2 separate regions of the Homo sapiens genome follow, and region 1 is linked to region 2. The links are contacts of gene promoters, found by promoter capture Hi-C in human tissues and cell types (Jung and others, 2019). All regions are on one chromosome and are shown on one strand. Each heading gives the region's core, a stretch centred on a gene start or on the middle of the fragment in contact. The rest is flanking DNA. Distances are from core to core; before and after follow the strand shown.

The links. The method cuts DNA at HindIII sites, captures the fragments that hold promoters and counts their contacts. A contact is called where the count stands out against the background at its distance.
Region 1: a contact is called between a fragment that was not itself captured here and the fragment with the promoter of SPSB4 in region 2, in 1 of the 25 tissues and cell types used here (aorta).

What each region holds. Positions count from the first base shown.
Region 1 is chr3:141,203,229-141,210,321 of GRCh38, forward strand. No RefSeq gene overlaps it. Among named protein-coding and RNA genes, the nearest start is that of PXYLP1, 25 kb to the right of the region's middle. RefSeq lists enhancers at 1,550-2,060, 3,565-4,066. The HindIII fragment of the contact is 3,972 bases long and covers 1-3,698 here.
Region 2 is chr3:141,047,729-141,055,091 of GRCh38, forward strand. It overlaps SPSB4 (splA/ryanodine receptor domain and SOCS box containing 4), which reads left to right and starts at 3,619. Exons shown (of 3, transcript NM_080862.3): 1 at 3,619-4,264. The HindIII fragment of the contact is 7,949 bases long and covers 1-4,347 here.

The sequences.
Region 1 (7,093 bases), core at 463-2,962, 150 kb after region 2:
CTACATGGCTTATGTTTCATTATGTAGATTCCTCTCGTGCCATCTCCAGGCTTTTAGGTCCAGAGTTGTGTTGATGAAAAAGCCAAACTTTGTGAAATATCTGAAGAGATTTATTCTGATCCAAATGTGAGGACCATGACCTGTGACACAGCATCAGGAGGTCCTGAGAACATATGCCCAAGGTGGATGGGTTACAGCTTGATTTTATATGTTTTAGGGAGACATAAGGCATCAATCAATATATGTAATGTACACATTTGTTTGGTCCTGAAAGGTGGGAAAATTCAAAATGGGTGAGGGAGTGATTTTCTTATTGGCAATTGCTTGAAAGAATTAAGTTTTTATCTAAAGACCTGGAATCAATAGAAAGAAGTATCCAGGCTAGAATAAGGGCTTGTAGAGACCAAGGTTCTTATTATGTAGATGAAGTCTCACAGGTGGCCACTCTTAGAGGCAATAGATGGCAAATGTTTTCTATTCAGACCTTTAAAAATGTGCTAGACTCTCAGCTAATTTCTTTAGGATCAGAAAAAGACCTGGAAAGGGAAAGAGATTCTCTACAGAATATAAATTTCTCCCTTGGCAGGGCAATTTAAGAGTATCTCAAAGAAATATATTTTGGGGTAAAATATTTTTATTTCTTTCAGGGCCTGCTATCTGTTATGTGATGCTATACTAGAGTCGGATTGGAATTTGGTAACTTACTGCTATAAACAGTCTGTTTTCTCCCTCTTAAGATCTCTGTTTTCACGTTAATGATGGTCAGTTGTGCCTGAGTTCCAAAGGGAGGAGAGTATAATGAGGCATGTCTGACCTCCCCACCTTCCCATCATGGCGTGAACTAGTCTTTCAGGTTTCCCTGGACTCCCCCTAGCTAAGAGGAGGTGTCTATTCATTGGTTGCGAGGCTTAGAATTTTATTTTTGGTTTACAGTTGTCTCTAGTGATCAACTCCTGTCCCTCCTGGTAGACAGGAGAGGTGGGACACTTTTACAAATCTATTTCCTACTTTTAGATAAATAGAGGGCAGAGGTCTTTCCATGTATCTGTTTCTTCTCAATTGTCTTCAGCAGGGTGAGGGACAGGTGTGGTGATAATGAAGGAGGGAGGGACTGTTCCGAGAGTGTGACATGTGGATGTGAGATGCTGCTGGTGGAGTGGGGCTCTGTAATGGGGAGGTCTGCAGTGTGGCTGTGGGTGTGAGTGGCTGAGGCAGAAGACAAATGAAGGCCCTGGCTGTCTGCAGCCCCAGAGGCTAGGATATTGGATGGGTCAGCCTCTGGGCACTGGAGACTCCAGGGTGAGGACAGGACCTGCAGTGAGGAGGGAGGCGGTGAGAGGGAAGTGCCCAGGAGGGTAGGATGTGTCAGCACTGAGCAGGAATGAGGGTGACAGAGCTGTACTGAAGCTGCTGTTAAAGTGAACTAAATATGGTGGCCTGAGAAGGATTCTGTACTCCTATAGTTAAGTCCTTGCGGACGAACTGCAGCCTAGTTTAATAGGTAGACAAGATTGAAAATCTAACTTAGGAGTATGTGCCTGTAACAATAGCTAAGTCTTGGCCAATTCCAGCAGCTGTACTTCAACCATTCAGTCATTGCTGAGCGTTCATACTGTTCAAATAAGGCAAACACCAAGCTGTACCTGTACCTCATTTCTGATTTCTGTATGTCTGTCAGGCCTCTGAGCCCAAGCTAAGCCATCATATCCCCTGTGACCTGCACGTACACATCCAGATGGCCAGTTCCTGCCTTAACTGATGACATTCCACCACAAAAGAAGTGGAAATGGCCTGTTCCTGCCTTAACTGATGACATTATCTTGTGAAGTTCCTTCTGGCTCATCCTGGCTCAAAAGCTCCCCTACTGAGCACCTTGTGACCCCCACTCCTGCCCACCAGAGAACAACCCCCTTTGACTGTAATTTTCCTTTACCTACCCAAATCTTATAAAACGGCCCCACCCCTATCTCCCTTTGCTGACTCTCTTTTCGGACTTAGCCCACCTGCACCCAGGTGATTAAAAGCTTTATTGCTCACACAAAGCCTGTTTGGTGGTCTCCTCACATGGACAAGCACGAAATTTGGTGCTGTGACTCGGATCAGGGGACCTCCCTTGGGAGATCAATCCCCTGTCCTCCTGCTTTTTGCTCTGTGAAAAAGATCCACCTACGACCTCGGGTCCTCAGACCCACCAGCCCAAGGAACATCTCACCAATTTTAAATCAGGTAAGTGGCCTCTTCTTATTCTCTTCTCCAACGTCTCCCACTATCCCTCAACCACTTTCTCCTTTCAATCTTGGCACCACCCTTCAATCTCTCCCTTCTCTTAATTTCAGTTCCTTTCCTTTTCTGGTACAGATGAAGAGAGATGCGTTTTATCCGTGGACCCAAAACTCCGGTGCCGGTCACAGACTCAGGAAGACAGTCTTCCCTTGATGTTTAATCATGGGGGGGAAACCTGCCTGATTATTCACCCACGTTTCAGAGGTGTCTGACCACGCAGGGACACCTGCCTTGGTCCTTCACCCTTAGCAGCAAGTCCTGCTTTTCTGGGGGAGGGGCAAGGACCCCCACCCCTTCTCTCCCTGTCTCTACCCCTTCTCTGCTTTTCTGGGGGGCAAGAAACCCCCAAATCCTTCTCCTTCACCCTTAGTGGCAAGTACCGCTTTTCTAGGGGGCAAGAACCCCCCAACCCCTTCTCTCCATGTCTCTACCCCTTCTCTGCTTTTCTGGGGGCAAGAACCCCCCAATCCCTTATTTCCACACCCCAACCTCTTATCTCTGTGCCCTGATCCCTTATTTCCACACCCCGACCTCTTATCTCTGCACCCCAATCCCTTATTTCTGTGCCCCAACCTCTTATCTCTGCACCCCGATCCCTTATTTCTGTGCCCTGACCCCTTTTCCACTTTTCTGGAGGACAAGAGCCCCCCCACCCCTTCTCTCCGTGTCTCTACTCTCTCTTTTCTCTGGGCTTGCCTCCTTCACTATGGGCAAGCTTCTTCCCCCTTCTTCTCCCTTAGCCTGTGTTCTTAAAAACCTAAAACCTCTTCAACTCACACCTGACCTAAAACCTAAATGCCTTATTTTCTTCTACAATGCTGCTTGACCCCAGTACAAACTCGACAGCGGTTCCAAATAGCCAGAAAACGGCACTTTCAATTTTTCCATCCTACAAGATCTAAATAATTCTTGTCATAAAATAGGCAAACGGTCTGAGGTGCCTGGCATCCAGGCACTCTTTTACACATCAGTCCCTCCCTAGTCTCTGTTCCCAATGCAGCTTGTCCCAAATCTTCCTTCTTTCCCTCCCACCTGTCCCTTCAGTCCCAACCCCAAGTGTCGCTGAGTCCTTCTAATCTTCCTTTTCTACAGACCCATCTGACCTCTCCCCTCCTTGCCAGGCCGAGCTAGGTCCCAATTCTTCCTCAGCCTCCGCTCCTCCATCCTATAATCCTTTAATCACCTTCCCTCCTCACACCTGGTCTGGCTTAGAGTTTCGTTCCGTGACTAGCCCTCCCCAACCTGCCCAGCAATTTCCTCTTAAAAAGGTGGCTGGATCTAAAGGCATAGTCAAGGTTAATTCTCCTTTTCCTTATCCCAAATCAGAGAGTGTTTAGGCTCTTTTTTGTCAAATATAAAAACCCAGCCCAGTTCATGGCTCTTTTGGCAGCAACCCTGAGATGCTTTACAGCCCTAGACCCTGAAAGGTCAAAAGGCCGTCTTATTCTCAATATACATTTTATTACTCAATCTGCTCCCAAAATTAAATAAAACTCCAAAAATTAAATTCCGGCCCTCAAACCCCACAACAGGACTTAATTAACCTCACCTTCAAGGTGTACAATAATAAAGTAGAGGCAGCCAAGTAGCAACATATTTGAGTTGCAATTCCTTGCCTCCACTGTGAGACAAACCCCAGCCACATCTCCAGCACACAAGAACTTCCAAATGCCTAAACCGCAGTGGCCAGGCATTCCTCCAGGCCCGCCTCCCCCAGGAGCTTCCTACAAGTGCCAGAAATCTGGCCATCAGGCCAAGGAATGCCCGCAGCCTGGGATTCCTCCTAAGCCATGTCCCATCTGTGCGGGACCCCACTGAAAATCAGACTGTTCAATTCGTGGGGCAGCCACTCCCAGAGCCCCTGGAACTCTGGCCCAAGGCTCTCTGACTGACTCCTTCCCAAATCTTCTTGGCTTAGCAACTGAAGACTGACGCTGCCCGATCACCTCGGAAGCTCCCTAGACCATCACGGACGCTGAGCTTCGGGTAACTCTCACAGTGGAGGGTAAGTCTGTCCCCTTCTTAATCAATACGGAGGCTACCCACTCCACATTACCTTCTTTTCAAGGGTCTGTTTCCCTTGACTCCATAACTGTTGTGGGTATTGACGGCCAAGCTTCAAAACCCCTGAAAACTCCCCCACTCTTGTGCCAACTTGGACAACACTCTTTTATGCACTCTTTTTTAGTTATCCCCACCTGCCCAGTTTCCTTATTAGGCTGAGATATTTTAACCAAATTATCTGCTTCCCTGACTATTCCTGGACTACAGTCGCATCTCATTGCCGCCCTTCTCCCCAACCCAAAGCCTCCTTTGCGTCTTCCTCTCGTATCCCCCCCACCTTAACCCACAAGTGTAGGACATCTCTACTCCTTCCCTGGCAACCGATCACATGCCCGTTACCATCCCATTAAAACCTAATCACCCTTACCCCACTCAATGCCAATATCCCATCCCACAGCATGCTTTAAAAGGATTAAAGCCTGTTATCACTTGCCTGCTACAGCATGGGCTTCTAAAACCTATAAACTCTCCTTACAATTCCCCCATTTTACCTCTCCAAAACCGGACAAGTCTTACAGGTCAGTTCAGGATCTGCGCCTTATCAACCAAATTGTTTTGCCTATCCACCCTGTGGTGCCCAACCTGTACACTCTTTTTTTCTCAATACCTTCCTCCACAACCCATTATTCTGTTCTGGATCTCAAACATGCTTTCTTTACTATTCCTTTGCACCCTTCATCCCAGCCTCTCTTCGCTTTCACTTAGACTGACCCTGACACCCATCAGGCTCAGCAAATTACCTGGGCTGTACTGCCGCAAGGCTTCACAGATAGCCCCCATTACTTCAGTCAAGCCCAAATTTCTTCCTCATCTGTTACCTGTTTCAGCATAATTCTCATAAAAACACACATGCTCTCCCTGCCGATCGTGTCTGACTGATCTCTCAAACCCCAACACCTTCTACATCCTGGGCATGGTTGGATACTTTCACCTTTAGACACCTAGTTTTGCCATCCTAACAAAACCATTATATAAACTCACCAAAGGAAACCTAGCTGACCCCATAGATCCTAAATCCTTTCCCCACTCCTTCTTCCATTCCTTGAAGACAGCTTTAGAGACTGCCCCCACTCTAGCTATCCCTGATTCATCCCAACCCTTTTCATTACCCACAACCAAAGGGCAATGCTGTGCAGTCAGAATTCTTACACAAGAACTGGGACTGCGCCCTGTAGCCTTTTTATCCAAACAACTTGGCCTTACTGTTTTGCCTATCCCTCAAGTCTGTGTGCGGTGACCACTGCTGCCCTAATACTTTTAGAGGCCCTCAAAATCACAAACTATGCTCAACTCACTCTCTAAAGCTCTCATAATTTCCAAAATCTATTTTCTTCCTCACACCTGACGCATATACTTTCTGCTCCCTGGCTTCTTCAGCTATACTCACTCTTTGTTGAGTCTCCCACAATTACCATTGTTCCTGGCCCAGACTTCAATCCAGCCTCCCACATTATTCCAGATACCACACCTGACCCTCATGACTGCATCTCTCTGATCCACCTGACATTCACTCCATTTCCCCATATTTCCTTCTTCCCTGTTTCTCACCCTGAACACACTTGGTTTATTGATGGTAGTTCCACCAGGCCTAATCGCCACACACCAGCAAAGGCAGGCTATGCTACAGTACAAGCCACCAGCCTGCCTCTTAGAACCTCTCATTTCCTTTCCATCGTGGAAATCTATCCTCAAGGAAGTAACTTCTTCCATCTGCTATTCTACTACTCCTCAGGGATTATTTAGGCCCCCTCCCTTCCCTACACATCAAGCTCAAGGATTTGCCCCCACCCAGGACTGGCAACTCTTAACTCCCTCTTAGAGTGGATAGATGATCTTTGCTGGCAGGGGACCCTCCAATACTTTCACCCTTACTTTTATACTATTCCTTACTTTTATACTCACTCTTATTCTCATTCCCATTCTTATGCCACTCTCTACCTCTCCCCAGCTATCTCCACCACACTATCAACCTTACCCATTCTCTCCTAGCCACTTCTAATCCCTCCTTAGTGAACAACTGCTGGCTTTGCATTTCCCTTTCTTCCAGTGCCTACACAGCTGTCCCCGCCTTACAGACAGACTGAGCAACATCTTCTGTCTCCTTACACCTCCGAACTTCCTTTAACAGCCCTCACCTTTACCCTCCTGAAGAACTCATTTACTTTCTAGACAGGTCCAGCAAGACTACCCCAGACATTTCACATCAGCAAGCTGCCGTCCTCCTCCACACTTACTTAAAAAACCTTTCTCCTTATATTAACTCTACTCCCCCCTTATTTGGACCCCTCACAACACAAACTACTATTCCTGTGGCTGCTCCTTTATGTATCTCTCAGCAAAAACCCACCAGAATTCCCCTAGGTAATCTTTCACCTTCTCGATGTTCCTTCACTCTTCATCTCCAAAGCCCAACTACACACATCACTGAAACAATTGGAGCCTTCCAGCTCCATATTACAGATAAGCCCTCTATCAATACTGGCAAACTTAAAAATGTTAGCAGTAATTATTGCTTAGGAAGACACTTACCCTGTATTTCACTCCATCCTTGGCTACCTTCCCCTTGCTCGTCAGACTGTCCTCCCAGGCCCTTTTCTTGTTTACTTATACCCAGCCCTGAAAATAGCAGTGAAAGTTTGCTGGTAGATACTCAACGTTTTCTCATACACCATGAAAATCGAACCTCCCCCTCTACACAGTTACCCCATCAGTCCCCATTACAACCTCTGACAGCTGCCGCCCTAGC
Region 2 (7,363 bases), core at 2,369-4,868:
GGAGGAGATGACATGTATACAAGCAGAGAGACGAAGTATGAATTAGAGTTACCTGGAAAGTCTGTACCAGGAAGAAAGGTAAGCACCTACAATGGCCTGTGGCAGGGAGAAAGAGCATGGAGGAGCTCAGGGGGCCCCAGTGTGGCCTGGCCCAGAGCGCAAATGAGAGGAGGTGAAACTAGATGAGTAGGCAGGGAGCCAGATTCCATGAAAAAGCATGAAAATTATGCTGTGGACCATGGGGTACCTCTGAAGGGAGTGGCAAGGGTGATTTTTCCTTCATGAAGAGAGCCCAGCAGTAGAGGTGAGGGGGCCGCTATAACTGCTAGGGAAAGAGATGGTGATGCTTGGGCTGTAAAGAGGAACAGAATTTGAGAGCTGAGCACCTGATGGACAATGCTGCATGGCAGGCTGGGCTCAAACAGGGTTGCTCCTGAGGGGTGGGCAGAGGACATTCAAACCTCACACAACACAGTTCTGTCTTGCCACAGACCTCCTTGGAGCAAGCTGCAAGCTCCAAAATTTCTCAGAACTGAAAGTTTTTCCTCCAACTTCTGTAAAACCATGGTTAATACTTTTACAAGACAGAGAAGGAGTCCGAGATTTCAATAGCTAAAAACTGGGAAGTAGACCGAATACCATTCCTTGTGGGAGCAAAGGCAGGAGGAGTGAGGTTCAGAGCTTTGCTTTATCCAAGGGGTTCTGGACCCCTGACTGCAGCAGCTCCCTACTGGACCTTCTGCCCCAGGCATTACTTTGCCTTAGTCCAAGAATCCCACGAATGCTACAGATCTTGGTCTACTCCTGAGAAGTAGAAGGAAAAAGATTTATTGTGCACCGACTACACGACAAGCTACAACCCACAACTGTACTCTAGGGACATTCTTCTGTTCCTGTTTAGAAATGAGAAAGCTAGGACCCAAAGGCTTGGAATTGAGATTTAAGCCCAGAGCTGTCTGACTATGCCCATGCAATACTGTACATTCTTTAGAGCAATACTGTGGCTAGTTTTTCACGGTTGCATTTTTAGACTCACTCTTGGACAGTTAAGAACATCTTGCATTAGTTACCTACTGCTGAATAACAAATTACTCCAACATTTAGCTGATTAAAACAACAAACATTTATTATCTTACAGTTTCCATGCATCAGAAATCTAAGCACAGGTAGTTGGTTTCGGTGATTCACGATCTCTCATGAGGTTGCAGTCAAGGCATCACACAGGGCTGTATTGTCCTATGAAGGGCTCAGCTCGGCGGGGCAGAGATCTGCTCCCAAGTTCACTCATGTGGTTATCGGTAGGTCTCAGTCACTCACCATATGGGCCTCTCTCCACAGTGCCACTGCAGGATATAGCAGCTGGCTTCTCCAGAGAGGTGATCCCAAAAGAGAGCAAGAGTGTATGCTCAAAACAGAAGCCACAGTCTTCTTATAACCTAATATTGGAAGGAACATCCCATTACCTCTGCTGTATTCTGTTAGTGAGAAGCAAGTCAGTAAGTCTAGCCCACACTTTAAGGGAAAGGGTTTACACAAGGGAGTATATACCAGGAGTCAGGGATCACTGGGGGCCATTTAGAAGCTGCTGATCTCAATCTAAAGAATTTTAGTAGCCAGGCTATCCTGGCTTCTCCCCAAATGGCAAGTTGTTTCCCTTGTTATCCAGAGGCTGGAGGATTTGGGGGTCTACAGGGACACAAGGGGGCCCTGTTTTGGCCCACTCCTTTGTGCCTGGGGCATAATCTCATTGGGAAAGGCCAGTGTGGTGAACCTAACTGGAGCCCCCAAGGGAGGGGGGGAGTTGTTTTCTCAAATTGTGGCCACTGCTCCCTCCCTCCCTTATCCTTGAAGCTACTGTGATGCTTCCCAGCACCGAGTGGAAGCAACGGGCATCCTCCACACACACACCCAGCCTGTCAGCCAGATGGGTAGAGAAACCATCAGCATGAACGTCTGCTTTAAACTTTCCTTTGCTTCTGAGCTTCTTTCCACAAATTTTCTTTTCTTGCTCCCCAACCACATCCATAACCCCCACAGTAGCTCACAGTAGAGGTGCTCCAGGAGCTTGTCAATAGGAGGTAGGAAGGAAAGACACCAAGTGTGAATGTAGGTCAGCACTGCCACTTAGGGCAGTTCAAATCACATTCACTGTCCTCAGCATCTATCCTATGCTGGTGCAGGGCATCCAGAGATGTGTGAGGTACCTATACTTGCCCTCCAGGGGGGGCTCACAGTTTTAGGAGGGGCAGACATGCAAACAGACAGTGATGAAACGTTAGAATAAGTACAATAAATACGTGTCAATACACACTTTTGTCACCTCATCATGGTTATCTTGGTTCATAAAGCATCATCTTATGCTTAGACTATTACAGTAGCTGCCAACCTGGTTTCCTCCATCCATCCATCCAGTTGGCTGCTAAGAGGTCTTTCTGGAATGCAAATCCGACAAGGTCACTACCCTGGTTAAAGGCCTCCCAAAGTGATGGGGAAGGTCAAGCTCTTGATACAGTCTCCACCCAAGACCCTAGACACCGTCCATCCCTCCAGTTCCGTCATACCCCCTCTGCTCATAGCACAGGCTCTGTGCTGTGATAGGTAGCTCTCCAGGTGACCATGTTGTACCCCTGCCTCCAGGAGCTAATTCATGTAGACACATTTACTAGGAAACATTCCCAGTTGCCCTTTCCAGTCTGACAAATTCGCCCCAGAACCTCTCTCAAAACGTTTCCTTCATAGAGTTGGATTGTCTTTACTTGTTTTCCATGTCCTTGATGAAATGCGCACTCTGCATCTAGACTCTGTCTGCATCTAGACTCTGTCTGCATCTAGACTCTGCCTGGTACCTGGCACAGAGAGGGATTGGGTTAGCAAATGACTGCGTAATGGACCTAAAGTCAATTCTGGGAGCACAGACGAGGGCCACCAAACCAAGAACTTTCAATTTCCCCAAGGAAGCGCAGATACCAGAAGCACCCTCGAGGCTTCTGTTTTGGCCACGCCCTTTACCCCATCGCTCAGTTCAGGCTCCCAATGAGGCGGCCCACCATCAGCGCTGGTAGAGCAAAGAGACCGACTTCCTGCGCCTCGGGTGGGCGGGGAACGCTCCTTGAGCAGGTGCGGTATGAAATTGGACTTTAAGAGATGAGTTGGAGCCTGATCTCAAAAATAAAGTGTGGACGTGTGTGTCTGAGGAAGGGGGATAATAAACCACCCTTTTTTCCTCCTGGCTGCTATTTCCCACGTGCGTTGAGTAAAGGCACCAAAGCTGCCTAGTGACTGGGTGTCTCCTCCCCGTCAGGGGCACCCACCCTGGCGCTCCAGGAGCGCTTGAATGAATCCGGGAGGACCCGCGCGCAGGAATGAATGCGAGAGCTAGGGAGTGAGCGGGCGAGTGGGCGGGTGAGTGAATGGCGACCGCGCCGCCGCCTTGGCACAGGGGCGCGGGCGCGGGCTCCACTTCCCTCTCCCGCCAGCTGGTGGCCTCGAGAAGGTGGCGGCGCCGGCAGCGGCCCGAGCTGGGACGGCCGGGGCGCGGGATGGTGGGGGAAGGGGCGTTCCCGGCGACCGCGCCTTCCGCGGCTATTGGATTAGTGGCCTTCAGGGATGAGCTCAGCCAGATCGGCTTTCAGCTGCAGCCTCCGGGCCGGCCGGGAAGGCGGGGAGCGGGCGGCGGCGGCGGAGGAGGGGGAGGCGGCGGCGGCTGCAGCATCCAGAGCTGGCCGTGGCGGCCGGCGCGCCCCGCGCACAAAAGCACCCAGCCCCAGGGGAGGGCGATGAACACACCACATCCCGGGCCCGGGCCCCAGCTGCTGCTACCGCTGCGTGCGCTCAGGGCGCTGGGGAAGACGCCCGGCGCGCCGGGGGCCAGCGGCCGAGGCGCGGCCCGTGCGCCCTGAGCGCGGGACTCGTCGCCCTCCGGGTCAGGCGCCAAGCTTCCAAGCGGCTAGAGCGCGGGCCTTGGAGCGCCCCCAGGATCGCTTCAGTAAGGCGCTTCCCCACTCCAGGCCCGACCCCCGGCGCCTGAGCGCCAACTTCGCCAAGAACGCTCCTAACTCCAGGCCATCCTGCAGCGCAGAGGGGGCGCTGCTGCCGGGCATCAGCCGTGAGGACGCGCCCCTGGCCGTGCGGAGAGAGCCGGCATTTGCGGGTCACTCGGGCGCCCCTGAGTGGGCGGCGGCGGCAGCAGACCCCTCTCCAGGGAGTCCAGGACCTGCCAGCGCTGGGGATTCTTCCCGAACAGGCGCTTGCCCTCTCTTTTATGGTAAGTACTCTCCAGCTCCTGGTGAGGGGCGCGCGGGGGCCGGGAGCCGAGATCCGGCTGCACGGACTTTGTGCGGGCCAGCACTCGACACAGCTGGCGCTCCTGACGTCCCAGTCCCTGAGAATTCCTCTCTGCAGGTTGTGGCAGTTCGAGATGGTTGATTTGCGCGCAGCCCTGGGGCGTTTGGGGCCCGGCCTTTGGTATCATGGGTTCTAAGCCCTTTGCTTCTCTGCGTAGCGGACAACGCACAAAAAACTGCCATCCGATTCACCCGCTTTGGTTTGGATCCAGGATCCGTCACTCACTGGCTGAGTGACCTTGGACAGGGCGCCAAACCTGTTTCCTCATCCGTAGGATGGGAATGATAATTGTGCACATTTTATAGGGGTATTGGAAAGATCTATGGGATGGTGTTCGTAGGTAGACATGTGCTGGGCACACAGGAAACACTCAATCATATGTTAGCTAGTATTATTATTAGCTTTGCGAGCCCAAGCTTGTTATCCAACTTTCCGAAGCTGCAGCAGTTCCGTCGTCCGTGTAATGGGGACAATAATTCCTGGGGGTCTGTTCGTCCGGGGTATTCGGAGAGGTGGAAGTAAAGCACGGGTCACGCAATAGGCACCGGTGGCTGTTGTTACCGTTTATTCCTGACTCTGGGGCAGTGAGGCTGGTCGCCTGGCCCGAGAGCGACTCAGGGACCAGTCCTGGCCTTGCTTGAATACAAACTTGTCTATGCTCGGGAAGGGAGGGGGTTGGGAGCTCAGGAAACCCTAGGCGCAGGGCTCTGGGAAGGAGGGAGGGGGTCAGAGACTTGAGCGCGGCAAATGTGTCCGCCCTGGTCGCTCTGTACGCGCCAGGGGCTCCAAGCCAGAAGGGGACGCCGAGCCCCCGACCTCTGACTGGCGGGAGAACCGGGGGAGTGGCTGCTCCCGCCGGCCCATGGCCAAGCGCAGACGGCTGCCGGCAGGAAGGAGAGGAGGGCACTTTTCTGTACCGCTGTCGCGAGAAGGTGGAGAGTTCTCAGTTCTGGAGTCAGGCTTGGGTTCGAATCTGTCTCCACCACCAGCTCGCGGTGTGACCTTGGGCAAGTTCTCTAACCTCCCCCCGCTTGGTTTCCTCTTCTGCGCCCCACTCTCCTCCTTGGGGGGTTGGGGGATGAAGATAGGAGTTCCTTTCTCTCAGACTCTGAGCCCTCTATCCTCCCACCCCCTTTCTGGCCCCCTGCCCCCCACCCGCGCAATTTGATGAGCTTAAGTCTGGAAGACGTAAAATGTGTAAAAGCATGATATAAACATCCTTTACCCAAGGGCATATTCCTCTGAGACACATACCCTCTAATTTATTCCATTTTTAAAAATGGTAATGAAAAGAATTTAAGCCACCTTTGGCAAATCACAAACAAAATTCAACTTACTGGACCTTCTACCCAAATATCTCTCCAGTTTGTATTTCTCGTTTATTTTAAAGATATATTTAATGATATAAAAATAAAATCTGCAAGGAAAAGAAATCACCAGAAACAGTCAAAAGATATATGACAAACTGTCACATATGACATATACCACTCCTATCACAACAGGCTCATCTCTTTAAATATGTAAGAGATTCCTGAGGTCAACAAACAAAAGATCAAATGGGCAAAGACACGATTCATACATGCGAAATAAAATAGAAATGATACCAAAACATATGACAAGATACCTTACCTCAATACGAAAAATGCAAGTTAAAATTACAAGATTTTTTTTTAATGTATCAAATTAGCAAGTAGTCATAACCATTTATCAGAAGCATCTTTTAAAAATGTAGATCACATTTCTCCCTAGCTCAGGACCTCCTTAAGGCTGCCACAGAGTAAAATCTAGATGATCCCAGGGGTCCTCAGGTCTGGTACTGCCCTTCTCCACCTCTTCCTCACCATTTTCCTCTCCCCCACTACCCACCCTCCTAGCCTTCTTCCTTTTACTCCAACACTCCAAAGGCTCATTCACTTGCTGTTCCCCTGCCTAGAATACTTTTCCTCCTAGTTTTTCATACAACTGAAACTTCCTCATCATTTACGTAGAACTGTCCTTGGAAGGGCTTCATTTCTATCCCAGAAAGTGGCCAAGCCACAGTGGCCAGTGCAGAATTCCTTGCCCTTTTGGGGAAAGACCTAGTACAACTCACCATACAGGAGTTACTTAATTTCCCCTGAGCTGCCCGACCTGTTGTCACACATCCATGCTCTAGAAAGGTTTTTTCTCTGTTGATACAGGAGTGAAGGGTCTTGGGCATGAAAATCAGGGGAGTGGCAGGCCGTAGATGGAGGTCACCAGAAGTCTCTGCCTATATATGTACTATATAAGTACATAGTATGTACTCTTGATTTATGTGAACATGACCATCTGTGGTAAGAAAAGATCAACTATAAAAAATTTTTAAACCAGCAACACGTTTTTAATAAAACATGGTTCCTACATAAGCCAACTAATTTATTTGCTGCTGATCAGTTCAAGAAATAGGGATTTGTTTTGAGGCTATAGGAAAAACAGTTGTGGGTGGTGTGCCCTTTGGGAAAGAGGTGGTATACCTCAAACCAGTTATCATGAACTTTGTGTGGAACTTTAGAAGAACTTTCCTAAGCAGTGTTGATTGCATGTGATTTTTGCTTCACACATTGAGTTCAGAACTTACTCCATTTAAAATGTATACGTGTGGTGGTTCATGCCCGTAATCCCAGCACTTTGGGAGGCCGAGGCGGGGGGATCGCAAGGTCAGGAGATCGAGACTATCCTGGCTAACACAGTGAAACCCCGTCTCTACTAAAAATACAAAAAATTAGCCCGGCGTGGCGGCTTGCGCCTGTAGTCCCAGCTGCTGGGGAGGCTGAGGCAGGAGAATGGCATGAACCTGGGACGCAGAGCTTGCAGTGAGCCGAGATGGCACCACTGCACTCCAGCCTGGGCAACAGAGCGAGACTCCGTCTCAAAAAAAAAAAAAAAATGCAAACCATGCAGGAGGTATAGAGTGGCTAGTCCTTCTTCAGTCTGACAAGCACGTCTTAATGCAGCCAGAGGTAACAGGTACAAGGCTGTGTACGAGTATTGGAGATAA